Regions from separate parts of the Homo sapiens genome. Here region 2 is linked to region 1. The links are contacts of gene promoters, found by promoter capture Hi-C in human tissues and cell types (Jung and others, 2019). All regions are on one chromosome and are shown on one strand. Each heading gives the region's core, a stretch centred on a gene start or on the middle of the fragment in contact. The rest is flanking DNA. Distances are from core to core; before and after follow the strand shown. Region 1 holds the start of HEYL (hes related family bHLH transcription factor with YRPW motif like). Region 2 has its middle 61 kb from the start of NDUFS5.

Region 1 (6,988 bases), core at 2,991-5,490:
GCCTCTCAGCCTGATCCCTCCGCTGGGACCATCTGTTGGAGGCTGACGCACCCATTTCAGGGCAAAGCAGTGCTGCCATTCCTTTTTCCAATCTCCTGGTCAGCTTGTCCCTGTCGTATTATTTCCCCCCTTCTCCTCTTCCCATATCTCAGAGGCAAACCTCACATTACAGTTTTCTTGGCAACATTATATGTCTTTCCCTCCTTTGAGCCTTACAAAAGCCCATATTACAGATGAGGTTGCTGAGCTTCAGGGAGCTAAAGCAGGTTGCCCAGCCTACCCAGCTGCTAAGGAGCAAAGCCAGCAGGGAATCCGCATCTTCTGGCTCCGCTTCAGCATTTTTTCCCTTCTAATTCCTACTTCCTGTCTGTCTGAATAGCCCTCCGGTCCCCTTATTTTTAAAGTTCCCAAGAGCCCAGCCAGAGCTCCCTTCCAGCCCGCGATCTGGCCCTGACAGTGGGATGAGGTGTGGGATTCTCTTGTCTGAGAATCTGAAAATGACACAGATTTTCATGGACCCAGAGAAGATATGTTGACCATCAAGATCTGCTCCATAGGCCTCTAGTGGCTCCTAGCCAGAATTCTGGGGCGGTCTCTTATGGGGGGAAGCTTTCCAGGTGGTCCTGACCACCCTCAGTGCTGACTTCCCCTGGGAACTCCCCCGTGGAACCCTTGCAGATGACCCTAATCATTTTGTGTCAGCCAAAGGCAGAATCACAATGTCCCAAATGAAGGAATCTCAGAGAGAACTGAGTCCATTTGTAAAATAAGGAAACTCAGAGGGGAAGGGATCTTCCCCAGGCCACACAGCAAATTAGAGGAAAATCGGAACTACAGCCAGGTCTACTCTAGTAGCTTTTTTTTTTTTTTCTTTTCTTTTTTGAGACAGAGTCTTACTCTGTCACCCAGGCTGGAGTGCAGTGGCACAATCTCAGCTCACTGCAACCTCCGCCTCCCAGGTTCAAGTGATTCTCCTGTCTCAGCCTTCCAAGTAACTGGGACTACAGGCACGTGTCACCATGCCCAGCTAATTTTTTGTATTTTTAGTAGAGATGGGGTTTCACCATATTAGCCAGGATGGTCTCGATCTCTTGACCTCGTGATCCACCCACCTCAGCCTCCCAAAGTGCTGGGATTACAGGCGTGAGCCACCGTGCCCGGCCTCTAGTGGCTTTTAATCTGGGGCTTTTGCCAGTGCACCCCATATATACATCATCCCGTCATGTAGATCTCAGAGCCAGTGCTTTTTGTTCTATACTGCACTTCCACATCCATTTGTCTAATTTATTGCACAATAGCACTGTAAGTGAAGTATTTTTTGGGCCATTTCACATTTAGGAAAAATAATCATTTTACAGGTGGAGTGACAGAGACACTGGAGTTAAGAATCACTCCAGTAAGTCCAGTCTTCACACTTCCGGTCTTTTCATTAGACCATGCTGTCTCATAAATATGTTGCCCCCCAACTGAATGGTGACCGCTTTGACAGCAACGTTTATTGGAAGTTACTTTGTGCCAAAGCAGGGAGCTATGTAACTTTATGTATGTTACTTCATCAAACCTTATCCTGCGAGGCAGGAGTGCTAATGTATTCCCATTTTGAACGCGAGAAAACTGAGGTTCAGAAAGGGGTAAAAGTCACTGGCCAAAGTTAATGGTGGTAAAATTCAAACTCAGGTCTATCTGACTCCAAGACCACCACCTTATATTGTGCAGGAACAGGACCCTGATCCAGTGTCTGACATGTGGCAGGTGCTCATTAGATGTTTGCAGAGGGAGAGGAGAGGCTGTACTCTCAGTTTGGACTCATCCTGCGTCATGGGGCCAGGTTGAGATGAGAGCTCTGTGGGTGAGTTTCACAGATGTGGCAGGACTGCCACCAGGCAGATGCCACAGTGATGGTGGAACACACCCTGCTCTTTACTCTCACGTTTCTGAGTGTGGGGGTTTTGCGCCCTGCCCCTGACCCCGAGAGGCTGGCTGCCTCCGTCCTGCGGCCTTTGTCAGTGTTTATCTGCTTTCTTTGTACATGAAGCTCTTCTTCCCTGAGAGTTCCCTGAGGGCAGAGGCTGAGCAGGATACATCTGGGCCCCCTATGCCCAGCCCAGGGTCTGGGCCACAGCAGGCATCGTTCAGTGCTCCCTGAATTGAAGCATTGATGTCTGCTGGGGGAAGGGCCCTTTGGTGAGTGCTACAAAGGGGCATCTATAAGTCAGCCTCTGCCAGATGTCCAGCTGCTTTCTCTCCTCAGAGGGGTCTGCTCCTCTAAGAACAGTGTCTAAAAATGGGCTCTGTATATATAGGAAATGCTGTATGTATAGGAAAAAACTGCCCACTGATCCTTTATGCCTCATGTAAGCAGTTGCCCAGATGCTACTATCTTCAAGAAGCCCTCCTTGCCATCTTTGATTAAGAGTGACCTCTCTTTGCTTAAGTGCCCTCACAGCCCACAGTCTGTCTCCTTTCCATCCTGTCCATGGTGTTTTTATGACCTGGCAGGTCACTGACTGGGCTGCAAACTTGTGGAGGACAGAAGCCAGCTCTGATCAACCTAGTTCTCTGGCATCAATTTTGTGCCTCTGATCTATGAAGACCCAATGCCATTGAATTTGAGACCCCGCTCCACCACCACCACGTGGTGCTGTGCCCTTTCCTGGCCCTTAACAGGCACAGGCTAAGATAACTGCTTTTCTAAATAGCAGTTTCTGCTAAACAATTAAGAAAGGCTAATACGTTGCATAGCGAGTTGTGTTATACTCCCTAAAAACAAATGTACAGGCTGCAAGAGGAATATCTATTATGGCATTTTCCTGGGATTTGAGACTGAGGCAGGATCCTTGGATCTCAGAAAACTGGAGAGCACTAAAATTACAAAATGTCCTCAAAAACATCCCTAAGAATTAACTGGGCCTGGCTCACTGGCTTATGTCTGTAATCCCAACACTTTGGGAGGCCAAGGCAGGAGGATCACTTAAGCCCAGGAGATCAAGGTTGCCATGAGCTATGATCATGCCACTGCACTCCAGCATGGGCAACAGAGTGAGACCATGTCAAAAAGAAAGAAAGAAAGAATTAACTGAATTCCCCTCCAATTCTGTTCTAGAGAGTCAAGTCTAGATGAGCCAAGAGAGATGAAGTATATCCCTTTCTTTTCCACTGCTGTCTTTGTTTTACTGATGGGGAAACTGATGACAGACTCTGTCAGGGAAACCAATGGCCCAAGACCACATAGTGAGTTGGTGGCAGATTTGGGGCTGGGACCCAGGTCTGCAGACTCCCAGTCAGCCCTGCAGCTCTTTCAGGGTGCTGGGAATCACATGGTGTGTACCTAGGCATGTGCTGTGCTAAGCCCTTGACATACTTTGCCTCATTTGGTTTTCCCAATATTTCCATGAAGTTGGTTCTATTATTCATGCTCATTTAACAGATAAGGAAACTGAAGCTTAGACAGTTTACAGAACTGCGAGGTAGCAGAACTATACAAGCGCAGTTTGTTCGACAGGTTTGAAGCAGGTCAGACTATCTACCAGGAGCTGAAAGACACTGGCAGTATGGGGGCACGATAGGAGGAACATTGGAATTAGAGTCTAGGCCCTTGCAAGTCGCTTATTATTTTCTTCAATACTAAGTCCCTAAATCCAAACTCCAATTTGCTCAAAGGAGGACAAATTTTCTTCTTCCTGAAATAATTTGTGGACTACATGAAAACTGCATCCAAACTAGGGTAAAATTGGGAAAGGATGGGGTTACTCTGCATCGTCAGCAGATTCCAGACAGGGGCCAGAGTACCATCAGTCTATGAGAGTTTTCTAAGATCTCCAGGGAAAACCTGCCAATGGCCTCCCCTAGGCCACTTCAACAGATAGATGATAACCCACTAGCCACCTGATCCCCCGAGCTGAACTCTCCCTCCCTGCCAGCATCCCCAGCCCTGCACGACCGAGAGCGCGCAGGATCCAGGCACTCGTGCGTGTAACGGCACGGCCCGCACACGCCCCCTACGCCGACACCTGTGGCCCCCGCGCTCACCTGCCTCTGCCCAGGCGGTGCTGGAGGGCTGGCCCGCCTGCTCGGCGAGCCCGTCGGGCCGACCCCCACCCCGCTCGCCCTCCGCCTGCTCGGTCCCCGCATCCCGGCCCTTACCTCAGCTGGCCCTCTTGGCCCACGTCGATGGGTCCGTCGGACTCCCCGTCGGAGCCGCTCGGCTCCTTGGGTCGCTTCATGGCGAACGCAGGCTGCCTGGTCTCAGCCCCGCGGCTAAGGCTCCCAGTCGGGAAGTCAGGCCCCGCCCCGGCCCCGCCCCGGCCCCGCCTCGGGGGCGCCGCCACCGCCCTTTCCCAGGGCCCTTTCCTGCGCCGCAGCTCCGGGCGCCCAGGCGCCCCCTCGCCCCCGCGGTGACGCGCCGCCGAGCCGTGGGAAGGCCCTAGGCGGTCGCCGCCTTCATCGACGGCTGGGAGGTCCGGCTCTGCTCCGCTGTCTCGGCTGCCGCGCGCTGGGTGGCCTTGGGCAGGTGCCCTGGGAGGCCCCGCGGGGAAGCCAGGAGTCCCCGTCTGTCCCTGGGTCGCCTGGGCGCTGCTGGCCTGTAGAGGCGCCGCTTCGATGCCCGGGATTCCGCAAGGGTCAACCCTGCGCGCTCCTGCCTCCTGGTGTTCTGGAGGCAGCAGACACATCAAGTTTGTCGAAGTTAGTCGTGGTGGTTGTGGCCTGATCCTCAGCAAGAATTCCCCAGCAGCAACTCCATAGGGGCCCAAAGCAAGTGGAATAGTGTGGTGGGGGCAAGGGGAAGACACTTACACTTCTGAGAGGTGGCAGTCACCCCCAAAAGGGACGGCTGAAGTTGTGGCCACCGCATCTGAGAAAGCTGGGCTCTGGCCGAGGTCCCTAAAGGCCTGGCGTGGTGGCAGTGGTGGGTTGTCCCTGGGAATCAGTTCCCAGTTCACCAGAGGTCGAGTTGTCCTGGGCGGCCAGGAGGCCAGGAAAGGGCTCCTTCTAGACGCTATGGCAGGGCCTCAAAGTGGGAGAAGGAGAGGAAAAGGGAAGATACCTTCCAGCCTCTCTTCCTGGGGCCTCTGCTTCTGGCAACCCATCAAACTGTTCACTCAGGGAGGGCTCTAGCTGCCCTGTCCTTAGGGGGACTTGTGGGAAGTTCTCAGATTCACCGGTCATCCTCAGGCGCCCAGTACCTCAGAGAAGCTCCTAAGGCTCCAAAGGAAGCTGCATGAGAGCATCCTGGAGCTGGACTTCTTGGGCAGGGAAGAGGAGATAGAGGAGGTCTTGGTGTGCTGGGTTAGATATGAGAGGTCTTTTCCTTTTTACCCGCCACCAGGTCAGGACCTGAGGGAAGCCACCCCTTCAAGTGGGAGAATCGGGTTGGTCATCTGAGAATAACTGTGCTTCCATCCCCACAGCAAGGCCTGCTTGCTGGGGGACACTTGATTACTTGATGGGAAAGAATGTTCCTGTGCCCCCGTCCACACACATCCACAGACACAACCATTTGGCCAGGTATGCAAACACATACACACGGACAGACTTACAAATATATACTGGTAGGCGCAACTGTCGTGAGCAATCAGTACCAGGAAGCCCTGGTGGTCGCCCCAGCCACAACTATGGACTCTCATTCCAAATGCCCTCAGCACTCACATCACTTCTGTGGGCACATGCCAGTCAGTGGAAACCTCAACTAACAGAGAAGTTGCACAATGTGTTATGCATTCCCTGGAAAGGCGGAAGTCAAGGAAGCCTCCCAGATAGCTGCCCTGTGTAATTGGCTGAGATAGCAAAGATTGGAAGAGGAGCAGATTTGCAGGGGAAGGTCAAGGGCCCCGTGATGGACGTTTCATGTGAGATGTCTTGGATCATCAAAATACAGTGCACAGTTAAATAGAGGGTATGGAGTTCAGAACAGAGGTCTCAGCTGGATATTAAATTTGGACGTCATTAGGTAATTGATGGCATTTAAAGCTATGGGAGCAGATGGGATCATTCAGAAAACGTGGATGGAGACAGAGCAGGGGCCTAGCTAAATACTTAACATTTGGTGAGCCCTTATTATAAAACCTGAAACTATTCTAAGTCTTTTGTAAATATTAACTCATTTAATCCTTGACAACCCTATAAAGTAGTAATATTATAATCCCCACTTTACAAGTGAGAAACAAAGGCTGAGAGGTAGACTAACTCCACCTAAGGCCAACAGGCAATAAATGGAAGGGCTGGAATTCAACAAGGCAGTTCAGTTCCAGAGCCAAAACATTAGGCTTTATTACTTTATACAGTACTCCCCCTTCTTTTAAAAATAAAGACAAGGATTCACTCTGTCACCAGGCTAGAGTGTAGTGGTGCCATCGTAGCTCACTGAAACCTTGAACTCCTTGGCTCAAGTGATCCTCCCACCTCAGCCTCCTGAATAGCTCAGACTACAGGGGCATACCACCATGCTCAGCTAATTAAAAAAACAACATTTTGCCAGGTGTGGTGGCTCACGCCTGTAATCTCAGCACTTTGGGAGGCTGAGGCAGGCGGATCACAAGGTCAGGAGATCGAGACCATCCTGCCTAACACGGTGAAACCCCATCTCTACTAAAAAATACAAAAAATTAGCCAGGCGTGGTGGCAGGCACCTGTAGTCCCACCTACTCGGGAGGCTGAGTCAGGAGAATGGCGTGAACCCGGGAGGCGGAGCTTGCAGTGAGCCAAGATGGCGCCACTGCACTCCAGCCTGGGCGACAGAGTAAGACTCCGTCTCAAAAAAAAAAAAAAAAAAAAAAAAATTTTTTTTGGTAGAGATGAGATCTCACTATGTTGCCCGGGCTGGTCTTCAACTCCTGGGGCCAAGCAATCTTCCCACCTTGGCCTCCCAAAGTGTTAAGATTACAGGAGTAAGCCACTACACCCCGTCAATTATACAGCTCTTAAACATTGTGATATATTATCCAGTACTGAGCCTAGAGCTATGCCATCAATATAATAGCCACGAACCCCC
Region 2 (7,186 bases), core at 1,270-3,769, 550 kb before region 1:
GTAGAACAGGAATATAATAATAGATACTGTGTATTGAGTGCTTACTGGGCAGTGGGCACTATTAAGCACTTTACATGCAGGATTAAGCACTTTACATGCAGAACCCAACCCTATAGGGCTAGGTTCTAACTGTCGTCATCCCCATTTTGTAGATGAGGGTGCTGAGGCTCAGAGAGATTAAATGGCTTCTCCAGGGTCACACAGCTAGTAAATGGAGTAGAATTTAAACCCACAGCATTCTGTCATGGGATCTGTGAGCTTAATCCTCCAAATGTGCCAAATAGCAATAATAATAGTTCCTAGGAATAGGAGCTAACTTTTACATGATGCTTTAAGATTTATAGACATCATCACATATAATATCCCCCAAACCTCATGAATTAGTTTTGGGATGTATTGTCTTCATCCCATTTTCCAGGTGAAGAAACTGAGGTACAGATAGGCAGGACTAGAACCTCTGCTTCCCAAGTCCCAGTGTTCCTTATGGGACCCCTTTTGTCTGCTCACATTCACCCCTTTCTCCTTCAGATCACTTCTCCCTGGGCTCCCAGGCCCTCCTGCAGCAGCCCCCGCCTGGGCCATGTCTTCCTCAGATGAAGAGACGCTCAGTGAGCGGTCATGTCGGAGTGAGCGGTCTTGTCGGAGTGAGCGATCTTACAGGAGCGAGCGGTCGGGGAGCCTGTCTCCCTGTCCCCCAGGGGACACCTTGCCCTGGAACCTGCCACTGCATGAGCAGAAAAAGCGGAAAAGCCAGGATTCGGTGCTGGACCCTGCAGAGCGTGCTGTGGTCAGAGTCGCTGGTAAGAGAGGTCCCCCAGCAGGCTGGACGCTGTGGGTGTGAGGGAGGAATGGGCCAGGGCACAGCAGCTGTGTGGGGAGCCGAGGGGTCCTCACCAGGGCCTCTGACAAAGCAGCCATCATCTGATTTGTTATTATTATTCTTGGAAAGACGTTGAAATAACATTAACGAAAAACTCAAAAGAGGAAAATCTGCCACCCCTTGCTCACGTGAGACCTGTTTTCATTTCTGCACCTTCTTCCCTGTCTTTGTCCCCATTCAGTTATATTTTCTATGCAGTTGCCTTCATGGCTTAGGTACCATTCTGCATCTGACTCTTTTCAGTTAATCTTATATTAAAAAGATTTTCCATATTGCACTTTAGACTTTATGGTTACCATTTCTAAAAGCTGTCTATTTCATGACTTTCTAAATCCTACTCTTTTTTCACTTTTTGGCTATATTAGACAATGCTGCTGAGAACATGGTTAAGAATGATTTGACTTCTGTTATTTCCTTATAATGAAATCCTTGGAGAGTACAGTTTTACTTGTATCGCCTTCCAAAAGTGTTCTACATGCTGACCTTTCACACGACGTGAAGGCTGGGGCTACCTCCTGTGGTGGGATGTGCCCAGCTCTTTGCCAAGCAGCAGCACAGTGCTGTAGTTATGAGTGTAAGCTTTGGAATCAGAGAGGGTAGGGTGCTGGATCGTGGCCCTGCCACTGACCAACTGTGTGACTCTGGGCAAGTCCCTTATTCTTTCTCAGTGTCACTTTCCTTGTCTTAAGAATGCCCACTGTGCAGGGATGCCTTGAAGGTTAGATGAAATAATGTGTGGAAAGCCCTTAGCACAGTTTTTGGCTCAATAAAGGAGATGCTTCCACTGAAGGCATCCACAGCTGCCTCCCTGAAGTGTGCTCAGCATCTCAGCAGGGTGTTGGTGTTACAGTACGGATAGGAAGATAGAGCAGTGCCTGCAGCTAATTCAGTGACATCACCCGCTTTCAAGCCGTCACCAAGGCCTGTACTGCTACCTTCTTTGTGTCCCTCAAATAATACAGCCACCCCCTCCACTGTGTCATCTCTCACCTGGACCTTCCAATGAGCATTTAATAGCTCTTCCTCTCTTAGTCTTGCCACCATCCTCCACGTGACTAATAGAGTATTTTTTTCTAAAATACAAACCTCAAGAACACATATTCTATTTTATGAAATGAAGTGCTGCCTGTACAACACTTCATTAAAAATACAATAAAAAATAAAATAAAATACAAACCTAATTCTATTACTCGGCTGCTTAAAAACCACCTTTGGCCCCTCATTGCCTGTGGAATCAAGGCTTCAGCATAAAGACCCATCAAAATTACTTACCTCTTCAGCTTCACCTGCCACCACCTCTACCCCCAATCACCCTGCCACAGTACACTGTAACTGGACCCCCAGAGGGATGCATCTTGCAGGATGAAACCACCACACTTTAATTTTCTTCTCTGCAAGATGCTGGTAAACCCTCCTCCTCTTTTAAGTGCCGCCTCCTCTGTCCTTAATGCCCCCAGTGGTATCCAAAGCTTCCTCCTCCGCTCTCACAGTCATACTTTTCTCTCCTCCATGTTCCCTTGTTCAATGTAGCAGTTAACCCACAGGGTGCCCATCACTCCCTTAGAAGAGTGAGCAATTTGGGATGTGTCTTATGTTTTGAGCCCCCGAGGGCTGCACGGGGCCTTGTACATGCTAGAGATCAATTGGTATTGAATGACTGAATGAATGCTGAATGAGTGTTTTGAGGATATTATGTGATGTGACAGACTGTGATCCAGAAACAGGCACTGAGCTATAACGGAAAGTTAGAGAAAGGCTTATGTGGGCTCAGGTAATCAGGAAAGGACTTTAGAGGGAATGAGCTCCAAGTGAGGAGACAACAGTGGGGCCTGGAAGGCAGGAGGGAGAGTTGGAGCTCTTTCTAGTGGGCAACGAGGAGTCCTTGGAGGAAGTCCTTCTCAAAACCTTTGGGCCTGCAGCATCAGCCAGTAACAGAATTTTAGAGCTGTCCCTAGGGTGCAGGAAGGGGTTTACTTGTCCCCAGTCTTGAAGGGCCATAACTCAGGGCCCTGATGACTCATAAACCTCTTTCTCCTGAAGAGAGAGTGGGCTGTCTCATTCTTCCTTCTTTATGCCCTCTGCCTCCATCCTTCATCACTCATGCATACTTAGATCGTTTTGTGATGATTTCCACTTCCAGTCTTCTCTGAGGAGGCCCACGGGATGATTTGCTTGCTGCTTCAGATTTGGAGTCTAGAATAGAAGTGGAGTGGACTCAAGGAGGCTTAATTTTACACAGGCAAGGCTCCTAAGGACCCTGCTGGGTCAACTGAGCAAAGGGATGGTGGGTGCTGCGCTGTGCTGTGTTTCTGGCATAGATGCTGATCTCCTTTGCATCCTGACACTGCTGAATGCCTCTTTTGAGGAGGGGGCTGGGCCAGTGAGGCTGAAAATGGGGAGACTGCCATGGTTAAAAATAACTTGTGCACTGCAGTTGGGCGTGTTTCTTTAGCAGGAGAGGAGAGAGGCAGCAGAGACGAGGCGGGACTGCGACTTTAGGGTCTTGCTGAAATCTTCATGTGATTTTAGAATGCTGTGGGGGCTCCACCAGAGTAATGGAAAAGGCAGCCTTAGCTCTGCAGGGACTCCTTCACAGGAGGTGCAGGGGGGCATGTCTGGGAGACCCTGGATGCTCTGAAGCTCTCTGAAGCAGAACTTTAATTGTGGGAGGAAATGAAGTCAGTCTTACGCTGGAAGCCAGCTGTGGCCTGTGCAATTTTCTCCTCCCCCTGGATCTTGCTTATGAAGCCAAGTGGGGGTGTCTGAATCACTCTCACCAAATAGAGATCTTCCCTTTCCCTGGCCCACTCCGTGTCCTGAGCTGGTCTTAGGGCCTCGCCCTTGCTTGAGAGGCCTGATGGGGCAAGCCTGGTGGTCACACATGTCAGAGTAGAGAGGGATGTCGGGGCTGAGAAACCTGCTGATTTCAGTCTACAAAGCCAAACAGGTTTTAGGGTGCTGAACCTTGTTCTTCTTCCCATCTTCCTGTTCTCATCCTTTCCCTACATTTGTTTCTCCTTCTTCTTTGCCAGCCATATTCTCAACTCCCTAAGCCCAGCCACATTCAAATGTAACAAGAGTCACTAATGAAAGTGTCTTGTTTCGGTTTATCAGCTTTATGGTTTACACAGAGATTTCAAAATAACTCTGTTAGGCAGGACATATGTTAGCATCCGAGGCTCAGAGGGTTTAGGGGACTTGCCTATAGTTACACAGGACTGGTAAACACAGATCTTCTAACTCCAAGTACATTGCTATTTCTTTTTTTTTTTGAGACAGAGTCTCACTTTGCCACCCAGGCTGGAGTGCAGTGGCGCAATCTCAACTCACTGCAACCTTCACCTCCCGGGTTCAAGCAATTCTTCTGCCTCAGCCTCCCGAGTAGCAGGGATTACAGGCGTGTGCCACCATGCCCAGCTAATTTTTGTATGTTTAGTAGAGATGGGGTTTCTTTTTTTTTTTGGAGATGGAGTCTCGCTGTCGCCCAGGCTGGAGTGCAGTGGTGCAATCTCTGCTGGATCTCAGCTCACTGCAGGCTCCGCCCCCTGGTTTCACGCCATTCTCCTGCCTCAGCCTCCTGAGCAGCTGGGACTACAGGCGCCTGCCACCTTGCCCGGCTAATTTTTTGTATTTTTAGTAGAGACGGGGTTTCACCATGTTAGCCAGGATGGTCTCCATCTCCTGACCTCGTGATCCGCCCGCCTCAGCCTCCCAAAGTCCTGGGATTATAGGTGTGAGCCACCGCGCCTGGCCCGAGATGGGGTTTCACCATGTTGGTCAGGCTGGTCTTGAACTCCTGACCTCAGGTGATCCGCTTGCCTTGGCCTTCCAAAATGCTGGGATTACAGGCGTGAGCCACCGCACCCGGCCCTGTACATTGTTATTTCTATTTCCTTAGGCAATACCTGGCAACCAGCCCAGTCTGAATCTTCTGTAGTTGACAATCTAAATCTCCACACTCACCTGAGAGACTTGGTCACTTCCGGGAAAGGCCTCAGGATCCTGGTCTATAGAACCAGGAAAGGGGAGAGACAAAGATCTTGGAAAATTTGCCTCTTCCCCTCTGGCTCTCTGTCTTTAGTGAAGAGCAGTAGAAATATCCTTACTTAATGGTGGGGAGCAACAAGGAAGTGGGGCGCTAGGGAGCTTACTGTAGCAAGGAGTACAACCCCAAAGGGTAGAAACAAAGAGAGGAAGAAATGATGTATCCCTTGGGACCTGTGGGGAGTATATTGAGAACAGGGTGCAAGACAGGGTGTCACATGGCTGTACACTGCACAACCCTTGGGGGTGCGATTCACATCACATTTGTTGTCATTGCAGACGTGTACATTTATTATTACAAGTTTCCTGCAGATGGCAGTAACATGTTTTGAAGAAGGGCTCATGTTTGGGCTAGGGCACGGTAGGGTGCAGGAAGATTCCACCATCTACCCATCAATCAGGTATTCATTCATCTAACATCACATAATCAGGACCCTCCCTGTCCTTGGCATTGATATTCAAAGATGACTGAAGATGTGGTCCCTTCTGCATGGAACTCAGTCTAGTGGAGAGGACAGAAGGGAGAAAAGGCCGGGTGTAGTGGCTCACACCTGTAATCTCAGCATTTCGGGAGGCCGAGGCAGGAGAATCATTAGAGCTAAGGAGTTCAAGACCAGCCTATGAGACCCTGTCTCTATTTTTTTTTTAAGTAGTTAGAAGGGAAAAAATAATTATATCCCCGTATGTGTTGTGAAAAAGGGGAGTGCAGTGACTCAGAGCTAAGGATTGGATCCCTCTCTGGTTGTTCATTTATTCATTCCTTCAACTAAAAAAGGGGTTAAGCTATGTGCCAGTAGAAAGCATCTATGGGATTCATTCCTAGGAGTATCAGCAAATGCTGCTGAAATAATCATTCCCAACATCTGCTCCATTGTGGCCTTCTAGTCAGACGACAATTGTCTCTCTGCACAGCCCTTGTTTCAGTTGGCTTTATATTCACGTTCATTGTTCCCAGGTTCATTTCCCTCACCAGCTCTGGAGGTCTCTGTAGTCAGGAGTCCCATCTTACCCTTTTTGCCCTGGGACAGAGAGCCATGAGAGCACTACCTGGTCAGAAGCTGGAGCTTACTCCTCTGGGCCCATGTGTCTCTCCTCCAAGTTGGGAGCTCTGAGAAGACATCTCACAGGCACCTCTCTGCTTCATTCATTCATTCAATAAAAAAAATGGATTAAGCTCCTGCCATGTGCCAGGCACTGCGGAGATAACTGAATCTGGAGTTACAAGACTTAGGCAAATGACCTCACTTCTTGGATCCTCAGTTTCCTTATCTATAAAAGGGAGATGGTGATAAAGGGTGTAAAAGGGAAATGAACGAGAATCAGAATGTGCTGGAAAAACACAGGTTCACATGGCCCGTTACTGCACTTAACAGTGTCATTCCTTGTAACCTCCCTGGCAGCCAGATGAGGCAGTGGAGACTCAGGAGGCCAGCAGTTTCCCAGGCCAGCAAAGAAGGAGCCCAAGCCTCTTATTTCTGTCCCCTTCTTTTGTTCTTTAGGCCTTTGTCAGGGAGCAGATGGAAGTGGCTTATTCTGGCCAAGCCGTGAGTGGGAAGAAGGGAATGCAGGGATGGGAAATGGAACCCTAAAGACAATCTCATTGGGAATCCTTACTCCTCAGCTGCCAAACTTCCTTGCCCTGAGGCTCTTCGAGTTTTGTATCCAGGAAGGCTCCTCCTCCTTCCCAGCTTCTCTACTTCTTCCTGGCAGTGTCCTCAGAGTCTCTGGCCCTGTCCTGGAGCTTGGTTTCAGTAGCAGCAGAGAAGAGCAGAGGAGAGTGCCCTGAAAGTGGGGCAGAATGAATTGTAGCTACACACCACCAGCTCAGCTCCAGCTCTTTGAAAGTAAATCTGGGTCACATTAGCTGTGGGCTGGAACATGACCACGTGGGCAGAATTCTGTGCAGGCAGCAGAAAAGACAGCCAATCTGTCCTTTCTCTGAGGTGCAGGGCCCCTGTGGGACCCCAGTTGGTGAGGGAAGGTGGTTTCTGGATTGCAAGGTGTAATGCCATCTTAATGCCATCATGCTTTTCTAATGACATCCTAGGTGACATAGAGAAAGGTATGGAATGGCAGTTTGGCTCATGCCTTTCTGTTTGTTATGGGAGAAGCCTAGGCTGAAGGTAGGAATGCAGAGGAAGGACTGGTTACTTTGGGGACTGTGGAAGGCCATCATTTCTCAGTCTCATGGGCTCAGGGGTTAGATGCCACCAGAGTAGCTGACACTGCAGCAGGATCTAGGGCTGCACTTGTTCTTTATTT

Evidence for each region. The method cuts DNA at HindIII sites, captures the fragments that hold promoters and counts their contacts. A contact is called where the count stands out against the background at its distance.
Region 2: a contact is called between a fragment that was not itself captured here and the fragment with the promoter of HEYL in region 1, in 1 of the 25 tissues and cell types used here (lymphoblastoid cells).

Annotation. Positions count from the first base shown.
Region 1 is chr1:39,635,403-39,642,390 of GRCh38, forward strand. It overlaps HEYL (hes related family bHLH transcription factor with YRPW motif like), which reads right to left and starts at 4,241. Exons shown (of 5, transcript NM_014571.4): 1 at 4,144-4,241. The coding sequence starts at 4,223. RefSeq lists silencers at 4,018-4,087, 4,208-4,597. The HindIII fragment of the contact is 11,489 bases long and covers 2,026-6,988 here.
Region 2 is chr1:39,083,639-39,090,824 of GRCh38, forward strand. It overlaps a transcript of MACF1 not described here. Among named protein-coding and RNA genes, the nearest start is that of NDUFS5, 61 kb to the left of the region's middle. The HindIII fragment of the contact is 4,796 bases long and covers 122-4,917 here.